2 separate regions of the Homo sapiens genome follow, and region 2 is linked to region 1. Evidence: promoter capture Hi-C in human tissues and cell types (Jung and others, 2019). All regions are on one chromosome and are shown on one strand. The core of a region is centred on a gene start or on the middle of the fragment in contact, and the rest is flanking DNA. Distances in the headings are between cores, read along the strand shown.

Region 1 (6,951 bases), core at 2,034-4,533:
TATGATTGCACCACTGTACTCCAGCCTGGGCAACAGAGTGAGGCCCTGTCTCAAAAAAAGAGAATAGTTTACTTCTGGAGTAGATTTAAAATTACCCCTGTGTTAGCCTCACTATATCACTTTCATTCTGATAGGCACTTTTTTTTTTTTGGAGACGGAGTCTCGCTCTGTTGCCCAGGCTGAAGTGCAGTGGTGTGATCTTGGCTCACTGCAACCTCCCACTTCCTGGGTTCAAGCAATTCTCCTGTCTCAGCCACCCGAATAGCTGGGACTACAGACGCCTGCTACCATGCCCAGCTAATTTTTATATTTTTAGTAGAGACGGGGTTTCACCATGTTGGCCAGGCTGGTCTCGAACTCCTGACCTCAGGTGATCCACCTGCCTTGGGCCTCCCAAAGTGCTGGGATTACAGGCATGAGCCACCACACCCTGCCAACTAATACACATCCCTGGGGTTGAGTAACTGCACTCAACCCCAGGGATGCCCGTGAGAATGTGGAATGTTGTCATGTTTGTTTTGGGAATGGTTGTAGCTAAAGAAGGTGGGAAGCTCTGACTGAGAGTTCTTGGGGTATACACTGAGCAGTAAGCTTCCCTCTTTTTACTTCTTTTCAGGGCGTCCCCCTGGATACCAGTAAACTGTCCACTGACCAGCGGTTACCCCCATACCCATACAGCTCCCCAAGTCTGGTTCTGCCTACCCAGCCCCACACCCCAAAGTCTCTACAGCAGCCAGGGCTGCCCTCTCAGTCTTGTTCAGTGCAGTCCTCAGGTGGGCAGCCCCCAGGCAGGCAGTCTCATTATGGGACACCGTACCCACCTGGGCCCAGTGGGCATGGGCAACAGTCTTACCACCGGCCAATGAGTGACTTCAACCTGGGGAATGTGAGTACTCAGGCTCCTTGCTCAAAAGCAGGGGAGTGGGTGAGGGTGGGTCAATGGGGCCTGAATGGCATGGCTGGTGCACTGTGAATGGGGAGATCTAGGTGGGGTGGGTGGTGGGGAGATCTCCTCTCCCCGGAGGTAACATAGCACTGCCAGCTTGGGGCTCCTCTCTTCCTGCGTTTGACCCTACTCCTGCCCCTCTATTTCTGCTCAGCTTGCTCTTTGATGACTTCTGCCTTGACCCGTTCTCTTCCTGGCATGCACATGCTCTGGCCCAGCAGGTACGGTGCCCATACTTACTTCGGGCCCCGTGCTCGCTTCTGTCGCTCTGCTTGCTGCCACCTCCCTCTGTCATTGCCTCTGTTCCTGGGGTGGATGAAGGTTGCTGGGCAAAGGGGATATGTTAGCAGGGCTAGGCAGGACACCAGTTCTAAATCCTACTTCCTAAAGATTTGTCTGTATGTCTATAGCTGGAGCAGTTCAGCATGGAGAGCCCATCAGCCAGCCTGGTGCTGGATCCCCCTGGCTTTTCTGAAGGGCCTGGATTTTTAGGGGGTGAGGGGCCAATGGGTGGCCCCCAGGATCCCCACACCTTCAACCACCAGAACTTGACCCACTGTTCCCGCCATGGCTCAGGGCCTAACATCATCCTCACAGGTGAATGGGGGTGGGTGGTGATGGGAAATGGAAGGAGGAAGTGACACATTCACTAATGAGTAGGAGATTGAGGGGTCTTGGAAAAGTTTACAGGACATGGGGTCCTCACCTGTCTCTTCTACCCACAGGGGACTCCTCTCCAGGTTTCTCTAAGGAGATTGCAGCAGCCCTGGCCGGAGTGCCTGGCTTTGAGGTGTCAGCAGCTGGATTGGAGCTAGGGCTTGGGCTAGAAGATGAGCTGCGCATGGAGCCACTGGGCCTGGAAGGGCTAAACATGCTGAGTGACCCCTGTGCCCTGCTGCCTGATCCTGCTGTGGAGGAGTCATTCCGCAGTGACCGGCTCCAATGAGGGCACCTCATCACCATCCCTCTTCTTGGCCCCATCCCCCACCACCATTCCTTTCCTCCCTTCCCCCTGGCAGGTAGAGACTCTACTCTCTGTCCCCAGATCCTCTTTCTAGCATGAATGAAGGATGCCAAGAATGAGAAAAAGCAAGGGGTTTGTCCAGGTGGCCCCTGAATTCTGCGCAAGGGATGGGCCTGGGGGAACTCAAGGGAGGGCCTAAAGCACTTGTAACTTTGAACCGTCTGTCTGGAGGTCAGAGCCTGTTGGAAAGCAGGGGTAGAGGGGAGCCCTGGAAGCAGGGCTTTTCCGGATGCCTAGGGGTGGGCAGTGCCAGCCCCTCCTCACCACTCTTCCCCTTGCAGTGGAGGAGAGAGCCAGAGTGGATACTATTTTTTATTAAATATATTATTATATGTTAATAAAAAAATCATATCAAACCCTTGGTGTGGTTAGTTATTTGGGGCATGGCTGGGGATCTAGGGAGTTATAGGGCCATGGGTCTTTTTATCTATTAGGCTTTTTGCATCTTCTTAGCACCACTGTGCTTTGTGGAAGGGCCCCACAGCCTCGGAATTTGTACCCAGCTGGATGTAGGCTTCCACGGCAGCAGGAAATCACTTCATGTGCCCTCCTGTCTGTCCAGGGCCCTGCTGCAGCATCAGATGGGGGCTTTGACTGATCAGACAAGTTATTCCTCTTCCTCAACCCTAGGTCTGGCAGTGAGTCGGGTAAGGAGGTGATTGCTGGCTGAGCCCACAGGTCTGAAGTGCTCCTAGGTCTCAGGGAAGCAAGCCTTCATCCTCACTCCCTCACTATGCATGCATTCACTTCACCCTCTCCACTCTTCACCACTCATTCATTTTAGTTTTAATTAAACAGATCCTTCAGTGCCATGCATGTTCTGAAGGTTTTCTCTTTCTGGATTGGGTTGCCAGCCCTTGGACCAGCCGTGTGGGCCTCTGCACCCCTCACTCCCCCAACCCGCATAGTGAGAAAAGTAGAGCCCCGCAGTTACCTTACCCCCACCTCCACTGCTCTATTCCACACCCTGCAGTCCTGGCCTCTCTTCCTCTTTCCAAAGCTCTTGTCATTTTCAAAAAAGAGAACTGAGAGCTTCTGGTTCTGGTCCAAAGGGAATGCCCTGTGCCCTAAACCTGGAAGTAGGGGGAGCCACCTGGGTCCCCGTAGACTAGACCTTCGGGACTTCACCTGCGCCCACATCATGCTTGCCACATCTGACTGCAGGACCCAGGCGGGAAGGGAGCGCGCCGCGGCCCTCTGGGTCGCCTGGGGTCAGTGTCCTGAGGCACGGGCTGGATGGTGGGAAGCTACCTGGGTGCAGGGGGCCCTCCCAGCCGCCAGGGGTCGGGCTGCAGGCGGCTGGGCTTTGGGCAGACGCTTGCCAGGGTCACGGCCGCCGGCCGAGGAGGAGGGGTGGGGGTAGCGGCGGCGCCCGCGGCCCGGAGCGGGGGTTGGGGGAGTAGAGAAAGCGGGGCGCGCGGAGGAACGCTGGGTCCCCGGCGCCGCGGGAGCTGGGAGGACCGAGCCGGCCGAGCGAGCAGCGCGGCAGCACAGTCCCCGCGTGGCGCAGCGCGGCGGGGACGCGGGGACCGCCCGGATCTCCTTCCACTGCGCCCCGCGCTCTGCGGTCCTCGGCCGCCTCTTCTTCCTTCACTCACTGCCCGGGCGGGAGCGGCGCCCAAGTCGGGTGCGCCATGTCTGGGGCCGGGTAGCCCCGCCGCCCGCCGGCCCGCCAGCTCGCCCTCCGAGCCACCCGCCAGCGGGCCGGCCGGCCGGGAAGCGCGGGACAGGCAGGTAGGGGCTGGACCGGGCTGGGCGGCAGGCGGGGACGGGCAGGAGGGAGCGCGGGCGGCAGGCGGGGTGGGGGATGGCCCCCAGCTGCTGTCCCTCACTGCACATCTGGTTCCGGTTCCTCTCTCCTGGGGAAGTGAAAGTGGAGGGGAGGGCACCTCCCGCAATTAGCTCGCCGTGCCCGGCCTCCTGCACCCCCTTCTGCTCCCGTGGGTGCCGGAGTCGGAGCCGCCCTCCCTCCCGCTTGGGTCACGCGGCGGCCGGCGCTGCTGCCGTCACGTCCTCGGCCGCCGGCGCGCCTGCTTCTCTGCCCTCCTGCTCCTTCCTCAGCCTCCTCCCCCTCGGCGCGCCCTCTGCCCCAACCCGAACTTCCCGTCACCCGGCACGCGGGCGTGGGGACCCGGAGTGGGCCCTGTGCCCGTTGTCTTCCCTAGGGAGAAAGGGCTGCTTTCTGCAGGACTCTTCCCTGGCTTGGTGAGGGGAGGCCCCGGTGCGCAGGTCCTGCGGATGGGTGCCACCCACTTGCCCCTCAGAAGGTCCCACCTAATGGCCTCTGCCTGCTGCCTTGGGCATAGGGCTCCCATTCGCCCTCAGTGGATGAGGGACAGGTCTGTGCCCCAGAATTAAATCAAGAGGCTGACGCTGACTCCTGGCTTTACCTCCCAGAAGTGGAGTCTAAATTTAGCTGGGGTTGGTGTGTGTACGTGTGTGCGTGTGTGTGTGCGTGTGTGTGTGTGTGTGTGTGTCCAGAGGCCAGGTGATGAAGAAAGCCAGCCTGGCTCTATGAGATTCCTTATTCCCTGTTCTCTGGGGGAACAGCAGGAGGTTAGCAGGACTGCACATCCTGGAACCATTCTGAGCCTCCTCTGCCTTGCTCAGGATCCTATAGTCTGAGATTCCAACTTGGCGTAATGCTGTGCTGGCACCTTCAATGGTAACCCCACCACCGCCACCGCCACCACACACACCCATAGGCTGACTTCCTCTGAGTTGCAGCTTCCCCTCCACTGTTTCAGGAAGTAACCTCCCTTCCCCTCTGAAGCACCCCCCACGCTTCTGGGCCCCTGCTGCGAGCTACCCACCAGGCTTTTTCCCAGCTTCTGCACCCTGGGGCGCCTCAGGACCCTTGGGGCTCCTACTCCCCGGGGTTGGGCCATGGAGGCAGGTGAGAACTAGGCTGTTGTGGGCCTGTTTCTGTCTCTGGGCTCCATGGTGGAGGGTGTGGGATGGCCGGGACTTGTCTCTCACAACTGCTTTGGATCTAACGAGCTACCTAAGGATCCTGGAGGTGTGAGAACACTGGATTTTGGGCCAGATTGGTGGAGTTAAGCTAGGAGAAAGGACACTTGGGTTCGTTGAAAAGACTCTTAAAGCTTGGGTTTTGTGGGCTTTCTCAGAAACCCATGGGGTCCTCTTAAAAACCTAGGAGTGGGCTCTTTAAGAACATTGGCAGGATCACAAGGTTCTTATGGTGTCATAACTAGAGTAGGAAGGTCAGAAACCCTTGAAAAGACTGTAAGGTTGGTATGATGTCATGGCCAGCATGAATGATGTCATGGAAGGCTATTACAAAAAAGATTGTGATCTCTGTGATGTTATAACTGGTGAGCCTTTAAAAGGGACACATGGACAATGTGAATGTCATAGCTCAGGTTAGCTGTGTGTGGTGGAGTTTAGGTTCTTTGAGGGGAGTGCCAGGACCATTAAGTGGGAGGGATCTGGTCTCTTTAAGAAGCTGTGGTGGGCAGTGATGTCACAGGGGGAAGAGTTCAGGATTGGCCGACCCCTTATCCTGCCTTTCTTTGGAAGGACTAGGAAGAGGAGGGGAGCAAGAGGGTACCCTGGTTGCCATGGCATCCCCAGCCTTCCTTGCTTCATCTCTCTCCCACTTGACCATTCCAGATGCAGTGAGTGAGGGGGGGGCCATGGCGGAGGAGCGGCCCCCCCGGCTGGTGGATTACTTCGTGGTAGCTGGGCTTGCAGGGAACGGAGCACCCATCCCTGAGGAAACGTGGGTTCCTGAACCCAGTGGGCCCCTGCGCCCTCCCCGGCCAGCTGAGCCCATCACAGATGTGGCAGTCATCGCTAGGGCACTGGGCGAGGAAGTGCCCCAGGGCTACACATGCATCCAGGCTTCTGCTGGGGGCCACCCCTTGGAACTCAGTGCTGGACTTCTGGGTGGAACTCAACCCGTCATCTGCTACCGCAGGGGCCGTGACAAGCCCCCCCTCGTTGAGCTGGGGTGTGTGCCCCTACCCATGCTGGCACCAGGGGAGGCTGGGAGGGACTCCAGTGAGACAGGGAGAGGTAGGACTATGGAACAAGGGAAGGGCAATGGGGATGGGAGCCTGGTGGGCCAGGGGCCAGGAAGGAAGGACTGAAGTTGTATGTACTTAGTCCTTACAGATGCGATTTCATGTGCTAGTGCTGCTCCTTGCTAGCTCTGAGAGCTTAGGCAGGTTTTTGAGCTCCTCTGGGCCTGTTTTCCTCATCTGTCAAATGGGGAAAATAATTCATCCTCATAGGATGGTCGAGATTAAATGAGATAACCCATGTGACAGACTTAACAGAGTCAGTCAGTGGTAGCTTGTATAACTATTTTTTTTTTTTTTTTTTTTTTTATAGACAGAGTCTCTCTCTGTCACTCAGGCTGGAGTGCAGTGGTGTGATCTTGGCTCACTGCAACCTTCGCCTCCTGGGTTCAGGCAATTCTCCTGCCTCAGCTTCCTGAGTAGCTGAGACTATAGGCATGTGCCACCACGTCCAGCTAATTTTTGAATTTTTAGTAGAGATGGGGTTTGACCATGTTGGCCAGGCTGGTCCTGAACCCCTGACCTCAGGTGATCCACCTGCCTTGGCCTCCCAAAGTGCTGGGATTATAGGCATGAGCCACCGTGCCCAGCTGACCCTTAGTGTTTATTAATGAGTATGAGAGCCATAGAAGGCATGCAGGATTGTTGCTGACCATGAAATAAGGCCAAAGGCCAAAGAAAGGGCACAGGATTCTGGAGGGCAGAGTTCAGCAAGAAGAGGTGGGCCCTAGTGTTAGAGTTTGACAAGGCTGTGGGTACAAGGCAAGTTCAGGGGATTAGATAGGCAGATCTGGCAGGATTGGGTCTTTGTCCTCTACCCTGACCTCTCAACATCTATCTTTGCTCTCTGTGCCAAGGGTGTTGTATGAGGGGAAGGAACGTCCCAAGCCTGGCTTCCAAGTGCTTGACACGACACCCTACAGCCACTCAGCAAACCT
Region 2 (6,951 bases), core at 1,612-4,111, 170 kb before region 1:
CGCCCACCTTGGACTCCCAAAGTGCTAGGATTACAGGCATGAGCCACCGCGCCCAGCCTCTCTCTCTCTTTTTTTTTTTTAATTGAGACAGTCTCACTCTGTCACCTAGGCTGGAGTGCAGTGGCACGATCTCGGTTCACTGCAACCTCTGCCTCCTGAGTTCAAGCGATTCTCCTGCCTCAGCCTCCCGAGTAGCTGGGAATACAGGATCATGCCACAATGGCTGGCTAATTTTTGTATTTTTAGTAGAGACAAGGTTTTACTATGTTGGCCAGGGTGGTCTCGAACTCCTGACCTCAAGTGATCCACCCGCCTTGGCCTCCCAAAGTGCTGGAATTGTAGGAGTGAGCCATGGAAACTGGCCCATTAATAACTTTTTAAACTTTTAATTTTGAAATTATTATAGATTTACCAGAAGTTGCAAAAATAGTATATAGGACAAAGAAAATGTACATATGGCTAATAGCACATTAAAAGATGTTCAGCATGATTAGTCATTAAGAAAATGCAAATCCAGATGGGCGAGTTGGCTCACGCCTATAATCCTAGCATTTGGAAGGCCCAGGCGGGTGGATCACTTGAGGTCAGGAGCTTGAGACCAGCCTGGCCAACATGATGAAACTCCATCTCTACTAAAAATGCAAAAATTAGCTGGGCGTGGTGGCGCGTGCCTATAATCCCGGATACTCGGGAGGCTGAGGCAGGAGAATAGCTTGAACCTGGGAGGCGGAGGTTGCAGTGAGCCGAGGTTGCGCCATTGCACTCCAGCCTGGGCAACAAGAGCGAAACTCCGTCTCAAAAAGAAAAGAAATACAACTGACATTGGAGTGTTGATGTTGTATATGGCAACTTCGCTGAATTAATTTATTAGCTCTAGTAGTTTTTTGTGGTTTTTTTTTTTTTTTTTTTGAGACAGGGTCTCACTCTGTTACCCAGGGTGGATTGCAGTGGCACCATCATGGTTTACTGCAGCCTTGACCTCCTGGGCCCAAGTGATCCTCCTACCTCAGCCTCCTGAGTAGCTGGGACTACAGGTGCATTCCACCACTCCCAGCTAATTTTTTTGTAGAGATGAGTTTCACCATGTTGCCCTGGCTGGTCTCAAACTCCTGAACTCAGGTGCTCCACCCACCTCAGCCTCCCAAGGTGCTGGGATTAGAGGTGTGAGCCACTGCACCTGGCCCTGGAACTGCCATACTGTTTTCTACAGTAGCTGCACCATGTTACATTCCACCAGCATTGTATAAGTGTTCCTATTTCTCCACATCCTTGTCAACACTTGTTATTTTCTGTTTTGTTTTCTTTGAGACGGAGTTTTGCTCTGTTTCCCAGACTAGAGTGCAGTGGCACAATCTCGGCTCACTGCAACCTCCACCTCCCGAGTTCACACCATTCTCCTGCCTCAGCCTCTGAGTAGCTGGGACTACAGGCGCCTGCCACCATGCCCGGCTAATTTTTTGTATTTTTAGTAGAAACGGGGTTTCGCTGTGTTAGCCAGGATGGTCTTGATCTCCTGACCTCATGATCTGCCTGCCTCGGCCTCCCAAAGTGCTGGGATTACAGGCGTGAGCCACCGCGCTGGGCCTGTTTTGTTTTTAAATAATAGCCATCCTAATGGGTAATAAGTAGTATCTAACTATGGTTTTCATTTTCCTTTTCCTAATGATCAGTGTATGGGAAGTTTTTAAACTATGAATTCAATTTTAAAAATATATATACAGCCATTCACATGTTATTTGGTAGTTTGTATCTTTGAAGGAATTTGTCCATTTTATCTAAGTGGTTGAATTTATCACATAAAGTTGTTCAAAATATTGTTTTACTAGTCTTTTGTTGTCTATAAAATCTGTAGTGATGTCCCCTTATTAATTCCTGATATTGGTCATTTATGTCTCTCTTGTTTTCTTTCTGAGTCTGGCTAGAGGTTTATAAATGTTATTGAGTTTTTCAAAGAGCAACTGTTGGTTTCATTGACTTTTCTCTATTTGTCTGTTTTCTATTTCATTCATTTATGCTTTTGTATTATTCTCTTTCTTTTGCTTCGTTTGGATTTAATTTGCTTTTCTTTTTAAAGTTTCTTTTTCTTTTTTTTTTTGAGATGGAGTCTTACTGTTGCCCAGACTGGAGAGCAGTGGAACGATCTCGGCCCACTGCAACCTCCGCCTCCCGGGTTCAAGTGATTCTCCTGCCTCAGCCTCCCGAGTAGCTGGGATTACAGGCGCCCGCCACCATGCCCAGCTAATTTTTGTATTTTTAGTAGAGACGGGATTTCACTATGTTGGCCAGACTGGTCTCAAACTCCTGACCTCAGGTGATCCACCCGCCTTGGCCTCCCAAAGTGCTAGGATTACAGGCGTGAGCCACCGCTTTCAGCCTTTAAAGTTTCTTATGGTGGAAGAACTTTATGATGGATCATTGGGTTATATCTTTCTTCTTTTTTAATATAAGCACTTCTGCCATATTCTATTGGTTATTCAGACCAATCCTAAGACAATGTATACTACATAATGGGGACTACAGAAGGGGGTGAATACCAGGAGTCAGAAATCTTTGGGGGCCATCTTTTAGTCTAGTTATCATAGATAGGTGCTCCAAATTCGTTCTGGGTTCCCTGATATTAGACTTAAATGATTTAATGAACCTGTTTCCAGTAATAAAGTGAGCACTGCTATTCCATGGCATGCAATAGCAAAACAGCTGTTTAAATTATTACCTGTAGACACACTCCAGTCAAGTGCATAGAGAAGGCAAAGCTTTAGGTAACCAACTGGTTGCTCCCCTAAAACATTACAGTGACAGTAAGGGATTTAATATGATTGATCATTGTTGCTAAATGTGCTGGATAGTGTGGGGAAAGAAAATGGTTACATCAGGGCTTTAAATTCCCAGCATGAGATCCCCATAAGAGATCTAAAAGTTTCTCTGACTATCCTTGAAGAAGATCTCACTACCAGATTATTATACCTTGTCTGCAATCATGTGATTAAAATCAACAATAAAGGGATTTTTAAAGTACATATTTATAAATTTAATAATGCACTACTTTTTTTTTTTTTTTTTTTTTGAGACAGAGTCTCGCCCTGTCTCCCAGGCTGTTGTGCAATGGTGTGATGTCAGCTCACTGCAACCTCCGCCTCATGGGTTCAAGTGATTCTCCTGCCTCAGCCTCCTGTGTAGCTGGGATTACAGGTGCATGCCACCATGCCTGGCTAATTTTTTGTATCTTTAGGTAGAGACGGGGTTTCACCATGTTGGCCAGGCTGTTCTCAAACTCCTGACCTCATGATCTGGCCACCTTGGATAATGCATTTCTTTTTTTTTTTTTTTTTAATTATTATACTTTAAGTTCTAGGGTACATGTGCACAATGTGCAGGTTTGTTACATATGTATACATGTGCCATGTTGGTGTGCTGCACCCATTAACTTATCATTTACGTTAGGTATATCTCCTAATGCTATCCTTCCCCCCTCCCCCAACCCCATGACAGGCTCCGGGGTGTGATGTTCCCCTTTCTGTGTCCAAGTGTTCTCATTGTTCAATTCCCACCTATGAGTGAGAGCATACGGTGTTTGGTTTTTTGTCCTTGTGATAGTTTGCTGAGAATGATGGTTTCCAGCTTCATCCATGTCCCTACAAAGGACATGAACTCACCCTTTTTTATGGCTGCATAGTATCCAGAATCTACAAAGAACTCAAACAAATTTACAAGAAGAAAACAACCCCATCAAAAAGTGGGTGAAGGATGTGAACAGACACTTCTCAAAAGAAGACATTTATGCAGCCAACAGACACATGAAAAAATGCTCCTCATCACTGGCCATCAGAGAAATGCAAATCAAAACCACAATGAGATATCATCTCACACCAGTTAGAATGGCAATCATTAAAAAGTCAGGAAACAACAGGTGCTGGAGAGGATGTGGAGAAATAGGAACACTTTTACACTGTTGGTGGGACTGTAAACTAGTTCAACCATTGTGGAAGTCAGCGTGGCGATTCCTCAAGGATCTAGAACTAGAAATACCATTTGACCCAGCCATCCCATTACTGGGTATATACCCAAAGGATTATAAGTCATGCTGCTATAAAGACACATGCACACGTATGTTTATTGCAGCACTATTCACAATAGCAAAGACTTGGAACCAACCCAAATGTCCATTAGTGATAGACTGGATTAAGAAAATGTGGCACATATACACCATGGATAATGCACTTCTAAATACAATTGTCCCTCAGTATATGTGGGGAACTGGTTTCAGGACCCCACATATACCAAAATCCACGCATACTCAAGTCCTACATTCAGCCCTGTAGAACCTTATTATTTATTTATTTATTTGGTTTTTTGTTTGTTTGTTTGTTTTTTGAGACCAGGTTTCCCTATTGTTGCCCAGGCTGGAGTGCAGTGGCGTGATCTCAGCTTACTGCAACCTCCGCCTCCCAAGTTCAAGCAATTCTCCTGTCTCAGCCTCCCAAGTAGCTGGAGTTACAGGCATGCACCACACGCTCAGCTGATTTTTTGTATTTTTAGTAGAGATGGGGTTTCACCATGTTGGCCAGGCTGGTTTTGAACTCCTGACCTCAGGTGGTCCACCCACCTCGTCCTCCCAAAGTGCTGGGATTATAGACATGAGCCACCTCTCCCAGCCAGCCCTGTAGAACCTTACACAAAAAGTTGGCCCTCTATATATGAGTGGGTTCTGCTTGTTTTTAAGTATGAGGCAAATTTCTTACCTTAGCACCTTTAAATGTTCTCATTTTCTTCTGAATAGCTTATAGTATCCCTTTCCCTTTACAGTTTATGGATGTCCAGGGGTCTTTCTTCTGAAAGTATGGTTTCCCTTACTATGTTGATTTTTTAAAAAACCTCTTTTATTTCAGGGAATTTTAAGCTATTTTCCCTGATTCTGATAATTAGTTTAGGTCTAGCAAAACCCTTTTCATTATTATTTCATTTTCATTATTATTGAACCATAGCAACTATGCTTATTTAATGAAGAGAAATATTTATTTATTTCTTTTATAGATAGAAACTGGTTGAGTAATTTATGAGCATACCATTTTGCTGATGTTTTGAGTATATGAATGTGTATTATAAGAATAGTCCTTATAAATATATTTTGCTCCTTTTTTCCTGCTCTTATAGAATAAAGATATTCAGCCTATAAAATTTCTAATCAAACACCAACAAGAAGTGAAGATTTATTTTCCCATCATGCTTACACCCAAATTTCTGGCATTTCCTCATCATCCTATGGGAATGTTATATCGTTATAAAGTACAGGTATGGTGTCCTATAAGGCTTCACAAGGAGATAAGCCGGTTTCTCTAATAGCTTAATTTATTGAAATTTGATTAATGTTACATTTATTTCCTCCCAATCCTAAAAGTATAACTTGGGTTTTGGTGACAACCAAAATTATACTCTTGAAAAATGTCATCTATAACAAGACTTGGTTACAGATGCTTTCTGTCTCTCTTCCCAATATCCTTTCCTTGTGAGTTTTATAAAGTTCTGTTGTGTCTTTTTTTGACATTTTGTGACACTACCATTACTTTGCCTCCCTTTAGTATTTCTCTTGCCTGTTAAGGTACTTTACTATAGTGTCACAGTTTCTTTTCTTTCTTTCTTTCTTTTTTTTTCTGAGACAGAGTTTTGCTCTTGTTGCCCAGGCTGGAGTGTAATGGTGCAATCTCGGCTCACTGCAACCTCTGTCTCCCAGGTTGAAGCGATTCTCCTGCCTCAGCCTCCGGAGTAGCTGGGATTACAGGCGTGTGCCACCACTCCCAGCTAATTTTGTATTTTTAGTAGAGACAGGGTTTCACCATGTTGGCCAGGCTGGTCTCGAACTTCTGACGTCAGGTAATCCACCCACCTTGGCCTTCCAAAGTGCTGGGATTACAGGTGTAAGGCACCATGCCCAGCCTAGTGTCACAGTTTCTAATGTGTCCAAAAATAATTTATTATATTATGTTACTATTTTGTAAACTTTATTTCACCAGTCAAGTTTTACATTTTCACTTAAATTTTATTTTCTTCCGATTGTAATTAAATGTAATGTGTGTTTTCACAGGTAGAGGGTGGCAGTGGCAACTTTACCTGGACTTCTTCTAATGAAACAGTGGTCATAGTAACCACGAAAGGAGTGGTGACTGCAGGTCAGGTCAGGGGGAATAGTACTGTTTTGGCCCGAGATGTACAAAATCCCTTTCGATATGGAGAAATTAAGGTAAACGACTCTCCAGATATTCTTATTACCCCTACAACACTACTGTCTAAATTTAAGTAATTAACACACTTTAAAAAAAGAGCCCAACATGGCTATTTAAAAATATTACTCACATTCAGTCAAGAAATACTTTTTTTTTTGGAGACAGATGTTGCTCTGTTTCCCAGGCTGCAGTGCAGTGGCAAGATCTCAGCTCACTCACTGCAACCTCTGCCTCCCCGGTTCAAGTAATTCTCCTGGCTCAGCCTCCTGAGTAGCTGGGATTACAGGTGCCCACTACCACACCTGGCTAATTTTTGTATTTTTAGTAGAGGTGGGGTTTCTCCATGTTGGCCAGGCTGGTGTCAAACTCCTGACCTCAGGTGATCTGCCTGCCTCGGCCTCCCAAAGTGCTGGGATTACAGGCATAAGCCACTGCACCCAGCCAGAAATACATATTTTAAAAATATTTCTATAACTAGGTTGAATCTTGCTTCACTTAATAGTCACTTATTTAACATCTATGTTTGTTTCCTCATAGGATGATGTTAGTATCCACCTCGAAGGTTATTATCAGAATTATTGAAAAATGTTTTTAACTGGAAAATTTGAGGAAAAAAATGATGAAATGCATTCTGTATTTATTATACTAATTATAAAAACACATGTAAAACTGAAAACAGTAATAGGTAACATTTTGAGCATTTGTTACAGTGCTCTACAAGTTCAGAGAAACT

The links. The method cuts DNA at HindIII sites, captures the fragments that hold promoters and counts their contacts. A contact is called where the count stands out against the background at its distance.
Region 2: a contact is called between a fragment that was not itself captured here and the fragment with the promoter of DENND4B in region 1, in 1 of the 25 tissues and cell types used here (pancreas).

What each region holds. Positions count from the first base shown.
Region 1 is chr1:153,943,050-153,950,000 of GRCh38, reverse strand. DENND4B (DENN domain containing 4B) reads left to right here and starts at 3,283. Exons shown (of 28, transcript NM_014856.3): 1 at 3,283-3,700; 2 at 5,604-5,943; 3 at 6,871-6,951. The coding sequence starts at 5,627. It overlaps CRTC2 (CREB regulated transcription coactivator 2), which reads left to right. Exons shown (of 14, transcript NM_181715.3): 12 at 617-886; 13 at 1,357-1,543; 14 at 1,672-2,326. The coding sequence ends at 1,892. RefSeq lists enhancers at 2,712-2,781, 3,593-4,093, 4,562-4,611, 4,932-5,031 and a silencer at 3,172-4,071. The HindIII fragment of the contact is 7,798 bases long and covers 1-6,951 here.
Region 2 is chr1:154,117,009-154,123,959 of GRCh38, reverse strand. It overlaps NUP210L (nucleoporin 210 like), which reads left to right. Exons shown (of 40, transcript NM_207308.3): 11 at 5,152-5,289; 12 at 6,080-6,235. Among named protein-coding and RNA genes, the nearest start is that of MIR5698, 16 kb to the right of the region's middle. The HindIII fragment of the contact is 5,706 bases long and covers 9-5,714 here.